Linked DNA regions of Homo sapiens: region 1 is linked to region 2. The links are contacts of gene promoters, found by promoter capture Hi-C in blood cells and fetal thymus (Javierre and others, 2016). All regions are on one chromosome and are shown on one strand. Each heading gives the region's core, a stretch centred on a gene start or on the middle of the fragment in contact. The rest is flanking DNA. Distances are from core to core; before and after follow the strand shown.

The links. Contacts are between HindIII fragments. The CHiCAGO score rates a contact against its expected background, and 5 or more counts as called.
Region 1: a fragment that was not itself captured here is called in contact with the fragment with the promoter of SNAI2 in region 2 in 2 of 17 cell types (M0 macrophages and M1 macrophages); the score reaches 6.8 in M0 macrophages.

The regions. Positions count from the first base shown.
Region 1 is chr8:48,593,857-48,598,246 of GRCh38, reverse strand. It overlaps LINC02847 (long intergenic non-protein coding RNA 2847), which reads left to right. Exons shown (of 4, transcript NR_187517.1): 4 at 729-1,161. All of the region lies in intron 2 of LOC101929268 (a long non-coding RNA gene), which reads right to left. It overlaps LOC124901943 (a long non-coding RNA gene), which reads left to right and starts at 2,937. Exons shown (of 3, transcript XR_007060909.1): 1 at 2,937-4,192. The HindIII fragment of the contact is 2,742 bases long and covers 1,010-3,751 here.
Region 2 is chr8:48,919,727-48,923,804 of GRCh38, reverse strand. SNAI2 (snail family transcriptional repressor 2) reads left to right here and starts at 2,376. Exons shown (of 3, transcript NM_003068.5): 1 at 2,376-2,618; 2 at 3,364-3,909. The coding sequence starts at 2,540. It overlaps LOC107986942 (a long non-coding RNA gene), which reads right to left and starts at 2,248. Exons shown (of 4, transcript XR_001745895.3): 1 at 1,604-2,248; 2 at 1,041-1,115. RefSeq lists an enhancer at 2,186-2,265. The HindIII fragment of the contact is 2,868 bases long and covers 767-3,634 here.

The DNA of each region.
Region 1 (4,390 bases), core at 1,131-3,630, 330 kb after region 2:
GAAGAATACATTATTTAAACTTTTGTACGTTTTGAATTTGGAACTCTATGACTGTGCTACCTACTCAAAACAATTTTAATGACTATATATATTTTATGGAATCCCCTTACAAATAATGCAAGTATTTAACCAATGCTCGCTATTAATGGTTGCACCATGATAGACTTAATGGTGAAATCATATACAAATTAAGACCTTATTGAGTAGCATTAAGTGGACCTCATTCAAAACAACTGCTCCATGTGAAAATTTTTGAATAATTTACCATGCTTTGATATCATTAAATACAAGACTTTTGCCTTTTACTCATCTACAGTGTAGAGATCACTCTTCCATGTCAGCTAAAGTTGAATCCCAGTTGGTTCTTACTGAGGGACCCCGAGGGCAGGTCTGTAGATGGGTGCAGGTGAAGCGGGTCACAGCACACTACAGCAGCCAGGAGGTATGGGCTTCCCAACACCAGGGCCACTGCCCCCTGCCAGATGTGAGCTGGCACTGCCGCCTTCCTCCCCGTGCACTGCATGGCTCTCCTGTCCTCTAACCACCCAGAGTGCCAGCAGGACTCCAGTGGAAGTCAGCAGATCAGGACTGAAACCTGGACTCCTAAGAGCTGCTGAGAACACGTTTTCTTCCAGGCACCTCACTAGACATTTTATATAGTTAGCCATCATTTAATTTACCCAGTGACATCAGCATAAGGTACATATCATTTTCCCTGTTTTTCACAGGCAAATACTTGGACTCAAGAGCAAGGAATGTCCTGAAGACTTGCACAGGGAAAAGTATTGGAGCTTGGATTAAATACAGATTAACAACAACAACAACAACAACAAAAGCCAGGCTCAGAAAGACAGGGACAAAGAAACAGAAAGGAAGTTAAAAACAAACCACAGGACTGAGTTCCTTCATTTCAGGGTCTAATGAGGGCTGGCGGCCGTAGCCATTCTAGAATTCCCAACATGGAGTTCCAAATTTTCTAGAAACAATGAAGATCTAGTATTTTCAAGCTTTTATCAGCTTATATTACACTCTCAATGATAATTTTTTTTAATTCTTTAGTAGCACACCAACTAACACTAAAGTAAGCCACCTGGCCAAGCGTGGTGGCATGTGCCTGTGGTCCCAGCTACTTGGGAGGCTGAGACGGGAGCATCCCTTAAGCCCGGGAGGTCGACGCTGCAGTAAGCTGTGATTGTACCACTGCACTGCAGCCTGGGTGACAGAGAGATACCATTTTAAAAATAAAAATAAAAAAAATTAAGCTACTCAATTTGCAGGAGATCATGCAAAGGTAGACAGAGCAGGCTGGTCACTGGAGCCCAGGGCAACCTGCAGACAGATGCACCTGCAGACAGACTTTTGCTGGCATCATCTCCCACTCTTCCTCTGGCTGGTCCTTCCCCCTGATGTTATTTTTAATGGTCCTGTGTATTGTTGTGGAGGTCACCTCACATGTTTTCCTAGTGTAGTGAGAATACTAACCAAAGGCTGAAAAGAAATCAAATGCAATGCCAGTTGAAAGACCTGAGACAGACACACAGGGAATGCCTAGGTGCCTGACAGGGAGAGAAGCTCTCAGTGTGCCATGGACCACGTGGATGCTTATCAAGGAGACCTGCTAACCCAGCTAAGAGATAGTGGCCCAGCAGGTCTCAGAGGAAAGGACCCTTCTGGCCCCAGGTGGCTTGGGGTCCCTCATCAGCACTCCCGTCACACCTCACAACCAGGGCCACCACACCAGGAATTCGTGTGCAGATTGTGTCTTGTGTCTGTCTTGAAGGCATCTAAAGGCACTTGGAACTATACCTTTTGTCTCCCCAACACTAACAAAATCTGTGGCATGTTGTAAATACTTGGTGAATGAATTCCTAAAAGTTTGAATCTGGACCTTCAAGGGAAGACAATATATGGCTATGCAGTATTCAGAGGATAACCAGGCAGGAAGATCATCAAGGTCTAGAAACACACCAAGAAGAGAGACTACGGCATTTCAGTGCAGGCCAGGGGTGGCACTGGTCAAAGGCACATGTGGAACTGTGTCAGGCTGAATAGATGAGCCGGCACCCAGCCAAGAAGCACCACTTCCGCCACGCCTCCTCTGGAAATGGCACCCTACTTCATTCAGGTGACAAAATATGGCCCTCACACTCGAATACTGACCGTCACTCAAGGCACCTCTGTCCAGTTCTTCCAAATCCAGAACAGTTTCAGCGATAGCAGACAAATCCACACATAACATGTTATGTTTGATTATTCAGAGATGATCATTTAAACAATGATGTCACTGCTATCAATGTAAGGCATCCGGTGGAGATGCCTGTCTTAGACACCCCTAAATTTGACCAACCTTGACTTCCAATTTGCCCGAGGGCATGGAGGACATTTGAGACAGCATGCCCAAAAAATCAAAGTGAAATGTCCTCCACTATTATTCCAGGAACTTCTTCTGAAGCACCACTTGGGAAATGCAGTCTCCTCCAAGGACAGCACTCACGCTGGTGTCAGCCACATACTCCAGCTGTACCCGGGTTGAGGACCAGTGCAGACCCTCTCCCCTGCATGCCACATTCAGAAAGCAGAGGAGGCCTTGTGTAAGGTATGACTACAAAATAACACAACTCTCAGAATCACTACAGATACAGCAGCATCCAAAGTCCTCATCCCCCACGTTTTAAATTCTCAAAATAACCACTTAAAATTTTGAAATTGGCTGGGCATGGTGGCTTATGCCTGTAATCCCAGCACTTTGGGAGGCCAAGGCAGGTAGATCATGAGATCAAGAGATCGAGACCATCCTGGCCAACATGGTGAAACCCTGTCTCTACTAAAAATACAAAAATTAGCTGGATGTGGTGGCGTGCCCCTGTAGTCCCAGTTACTCGGAGGCTGAGGCAGAATAGCTTGAACCCAGGAGGCAGAGGTTGCAGTGAGCCAACGTCGCACTACTGCACTCCAGTCTGGTGACAGAGCGAGATTCCACCTCAAAAAAAAAAATGCAATGAACACATGTCATCCTGCCCAAGCCAAAAGAAAGATGGGAGCTATTTTCTCAGCTGGTAGCATAATTGTATTATTCGCAGAGGCACACTGAAGACTCAGTGTCAGCTCGGTGCAGTTAGAAAGAACGCTGACGGTGGCAAAGCTAAATGGTCTTTGTCAGGCATTCTCCAGCATTCAAACGGGTAATATTCCATAGCGTCTTTCACTAAGTCAGTTCATGCAGGGAGGCAGAAGCAGGAGGCAGCGCTCTCAAAGTCACAGGCTCCAAGTGAGCCATGCTGAAGTTTAGTTTCATGGTCGAGGTTGCCAACTAGTAACTTTTATTCATACAATTTTCAAGTTAAAATCTTTATTTCCAGCTAGGCGCGGTGGCTCATGCCTGTAATCCCAGCACTTTGGGAGGCCGAGGCAGGCAGATCACGAGGTCAGGAGATCAAGACCATCCTGGCTAACGCGGTGAATCCCCATCTCTACTAAAAATACAAAAACAAAAAATTAGCCAGGTGTGGTGGCAGGCACCTGTAGTCCCAGCTACTCGGGAGGCTGAGGCAGGAGAATGGTGTGAACCCGGGAGGCGGAGGTTGCAGTGAGCCGAGATTGTGCCACTGCACTCCAGCTTGGGCCACAGAGCAAGGCTCCATCTCAAAAAAAAAAAAAAAATCCTCACTTCCACACTTTCCCACGGTGCCCTGGGATCTTGGCTATTTGCTCAAGCATTTGAAAACATTTCTTTTTTAATTTCTTGAAAGCTTAAGTTCACAAAGAAACTTGTACATGAATGCTCATGGAAGCTTCATTTGTAATGGTCGAAAATGGGGGACAAGGCAGCCGTCCTTCGACGATGACTGATTAAACAGTGGTGTGTCCACACCAGGAACACGGCTCAGCTATGGAAAGGAACGGGCTCTGATACACACAGCAACGTGAATGGGTCTCAAGGGCATTTTACTGAGTGCAAAAATGCCTTGTGAGGTTACTGTGTGGTTTTGTTTATGTAACAGTCTCAAAGGATAAAATTATAGAGACGGAGAGCAGATTAATGGTTCCAGGAGCAAGGAAGACAGGAACCCTCGTGTGGAGCTGTTCTGCCTCTTGACTGTCAAGGTGGCCATCCTACTCTACAGCAGTGATACAGTTACGGAAAATAAATGCACACAAATGAACTGAGACTGGAGGAACCCCAGTGACACTGGTGAGTGTATGCATTTATACACTGGTTGAGATACTGTAATATAGTGCTACGTTTGCAGATGTTATGACGGAGAAAACTGGGTAAAAGGCACAGAAGATCATGCTATATTATATCTGACCACTACATGTGAATCTTCAGTTATCTCAAAATTAAAAGTTTAACAACAAATTCTTTGGGGAAAATGTTTGACTTGGAATT
Region 2 (4,078 bases), core at 1,127-3,626:
GAGAAAGTCTTTTTGTCAACGACCAAAGCCAACCCCTCCAGATGAGCCCTCTGGCTGGCAGAAGGAAAGGAAACCTCTGTCTTGTCTTAGCAGAGTCCCAGCAGCTGGCCTTTGGGTGTGGCCTTGACTTCCCGGCTTGCGTTTTTACCACATGGTGCTGGCGCCACATGCCCTCCGCTGTGTCTGAGCAGAGCACCTGTTTCGTCTGACTCACGCCATCAGCGCGCAGACTCGCCCTGCTCTGACAGCGGCCCAGACCTCACACGGGCATACGTGTTACTCGCTAGCACGCGGATCTGTGTAATGACATGCCCCATGCACAGACCCGAGCCCCATCCTCTCCTCACAGTAGGTGTGGCCGCACGTCCTGACGCCGATCTGTGCAGTGCACCCTCGGATACCTGCTGATGGGGCTGGGCTGGATTATGCCTCTGTGATCCAAATGTAAGCTTTTTTCATGCATAGTGAATTATTATTAAACGTTGTAAATGGATTTTTGAATACACATTTTAGTAGATGATCTTGTGTTATAACTACCAGCAAATAAATACCAAAACATTGTCTAACACTCTTCTTTGTTGTGAATAGACTGTGTAGAGTGAAACAAGGAAATAATAGCCATGGCGATATGTGTTTTCTCAACTGTGCTATATCTGTAACAAAAATGTGTGTTTTGTGGGAAATGGAGTGAAAAGCAAGGAGGACTCCTGCTCTCATAAACCCAGGTGCCTACATCCGAACAAACCCTCACATAGAGTAGCAAGCTTAGAAAACTGCCTCTGGCTTTTACTCCAGGTTCCAGTTTGTGTGTGGAGAAATCGAATATGTATTCATATTTTCCTCTCTCCTGCAAGTACAGTTCCATTAGCATAAGGATTCCTTTGAATTATTTTCTCTGTTTGACATTTAAATTAGTGACTGTTGGAAGAAATAAGAATAATCATTGAAATTAGCTTAGGAAATCTGTGAGTGCCCCACCTCACCCTCCAAACACACATACACTCTTGTTTTCTCATTCCAAGATTAAGAAGTTATGCAACCTGACAATGCACTTTTCTCTGACAAGTCTTGACATCACCACTGTTATTTTCTTTTTCACTTTTTTCCTCCAGCACCTGTTAGAAACAAGAGTAGGGTGATCTTCATGTGAATTTGTTCTTTCCTTATTCTTTTAGCAAAAGATAGGGATAAAAGTCTGCAATGGACAGAGATGCTTTAAAATATGCTTGAAATTTTATATTTAAAATAAACCACCTGAAAGTATTTTTAGATTGAAGACCATACACAAAATAAAGGTGTTTTTGCAGTTACTAGACTGGGTTCTTAAAACTTTAATCAATCTATATTCATAATAATATCCTTCAATTTCTTTTTTAGCATTATACAGGAAACTGGTAGATACTGAGATGGATTTTAATGGCTTTATACTGATGAAAATAGCACCACATAAAAGCAGGGGAATATTAGAAATAAAAATAATTGTCTCTAAAGACCCATACAACCCTTTTTCCCATAAAAAAAAAGATGCACTGTAATACATGAAAAGATAAGATCTCTTGTCAAAAGTGTGAGAGAATGTCCGGTGGTTCCAAATGACAGTTACCTCTTGCCCCCCTTCTCTGCCAGAGTTCCTTTTTATCTTTGCAATCTTCCAGTTCTTCCGATCAGCCTGCCTTTAGAGGGCTACAAAGCATTTCTTTCAAGCCACCATAGCTAACACGGTGACATGAGTACTTAATTTGCACGCGGCCGCGCTGCCCCTGGCTTCGCGGAAGCCCTGAGTAGCGCAGCGCCCTCGCCGCACGCAAGGCTGCAGTCCCGCTCCAGGCCAGAGTCCCAGGAGAGCGTCCTCCGCGCTCACAGGCGCCTTTGTCTTCCCGCTTCCCCCTTCCTTTTTCAAAAGCCAAGAGGTAATTATTTGGTCTTTGTGCAAGGCAAACCTCTCCAGATGCCACTTCCAAATATAGGCTCTCATTAACACCAGAGGCTGGCCTGGTGTGGTGCAGGGCGGCCCTTCCTTCTCCTGGCGGACACTGTGTCCCCGCGCGCTGGCGCTGCACCACATCTGGAAGCCAGGCGGGCAGGGCAGAGACCCCGGCTCCTGCGCCCCTCCTAGCTCCCAGAGAGCGTGGATCGCGGGCGGGGCTCACCGAGCGAGGTTACCTCTCTTGAAAATACTTAAACACTTTTTTTCCTCTCCACTGAAATCTCAAAAAACAGCCCATTTTGAACCAGAATAATTTAGTCTGACAACAGATTCTTCCTCTGTTCACAGCTGTCCCAGAGGGAGGAGCTGAAATCTGAACCTCTCAGCTGTGATTGGATCTTTCTTGCAAAAGAGAGGAAAAAAAAACCCTCCCAGCCAAAACGGGCTCAGTTCGTAAAGGAGCCGGGTGACTTCAGAGGCGCCGGCCCGTCCGTCTGCCGCACCTGAGCACGGCCCCTGCCCGAGCCTGGCCCGCCGCGATGCTGTAGGGACCGCCGTGTCCTCCCGCCGGACCGTTATCCGCGCCGGGCGCCCGCCAGACCCGCTGGCAAGATGCCGCGCTCCTTCCTGGTCAAGAAGCATTTCAACGCCTCCAAAAAGCCAAACTACAGCGAACTGGACACACATACAGGTAAAAAGAGAAAAATATATCTAGAACTACGTATCTAGAGCTTTGCAAATATGAATCTACGTATTACCCTTCAAATACCATTACAAAAGAGCCAAAGATTCAACTGTTTTCCTTTTTAACAGTGTCCTGAAAGGGAGCTTACATTCTTTTGATCATTTAGGGTTCGTTTTAATTCAAAACTTTTAAAATTCTTGACTAACAAGGAACATTTCATTCAAATCTCGCAGCTTCGTTTGCTAAAGCCTGTGTATACATGCATAATGAGTATGTGAAAGATGAGCAACATAAGGATTGAATTACTGCGTTTTTCATGCACTAAGTCTCCTTTCCTTTAGAAGGCGGCTTGATGCAGGCATATCTTTGTACTCACGGTCGTAATACACCTAAATAGCCCATACGTAACATGGAAAACAACTTTTCTGTATGTTTAAAAATAATGTTGAGGCTCTCCTTCCTCAATGGGGACGGCGAAGGCACTGGCTTGGCTGCACTGTCTGACTTCAGAGCACCTATAGCTCCGTGCAGCTGTCAGCCTATGTGTGCATTAAGTACAGTAACTCCGTAGGTGCCAGGGTGGAAATGAAACATTTTACCAGTGTGTATGCCCTCCTAAATGGGTCTATCTTCTTCCTAAGAAAATCACGTGTGTGTTGCTAAATATCTTTCCAGTGTGTGTATACTTGCGTGTGGATTTATTTTTAATTATTTTTGCCTTAATCTTCTCTCCCTCCCTTTTCTTTCCCAGTGATTATTTCCCCGTATCTCTATGAGAGTTACTCCATGCCTGTCATACCACAACCAGAGATCCTCAGCTCAGGAGCATACAGCCCCATCACTGTGTGGACTACCGCTGCTCCATTCCACGCCCAGCTACCCAATGGCCTCTCTCCTCTTTCCGGATACTCCTCATCTTTGGGGCGAGTGAGTCCCCCTCCTCCATCTGACACCTCCTCCAAGGACCACAGTGGCTCAGAAAGCCCCATTAGTGATGAAGAGGAAAGACTACAGTCCAAGCTTTCAGACCCCCATGCCATTGAAGCTGAAAAGTTTCAGTGCAATTTATGCAATAAGACCTATTCAACTTTTTCTGGGCTGGCCAAACATAAGCAGCTGCACTGCGATGCCCAGTCTAGAAAATCTTTCAGCTGTAAATACTGTGACAAGGAATATGTGAGCCTGGGCGCCCTGAAGATGCATATTCGGACCCACACATTACCTTGTGTTTGCAAGATCTGCGGCAAGGCGTTTTCCAGACCCTGGTTGCTTCAAGGACACATTAGAACTCACACGGGTAAGAGAAAAACCATAGGCAGGAATGTTACTCTGAGATACAATGAAGCCCTGGGCTGGCTGTTGGATTTGCATGAAGTTGTGACATAGTGCTTTTAATGATGGACAGTCATTGATAGCTACTTCCTGACTACTCAAAAAGTTGTTAGGGCACAAAGTGCTCCATTTCT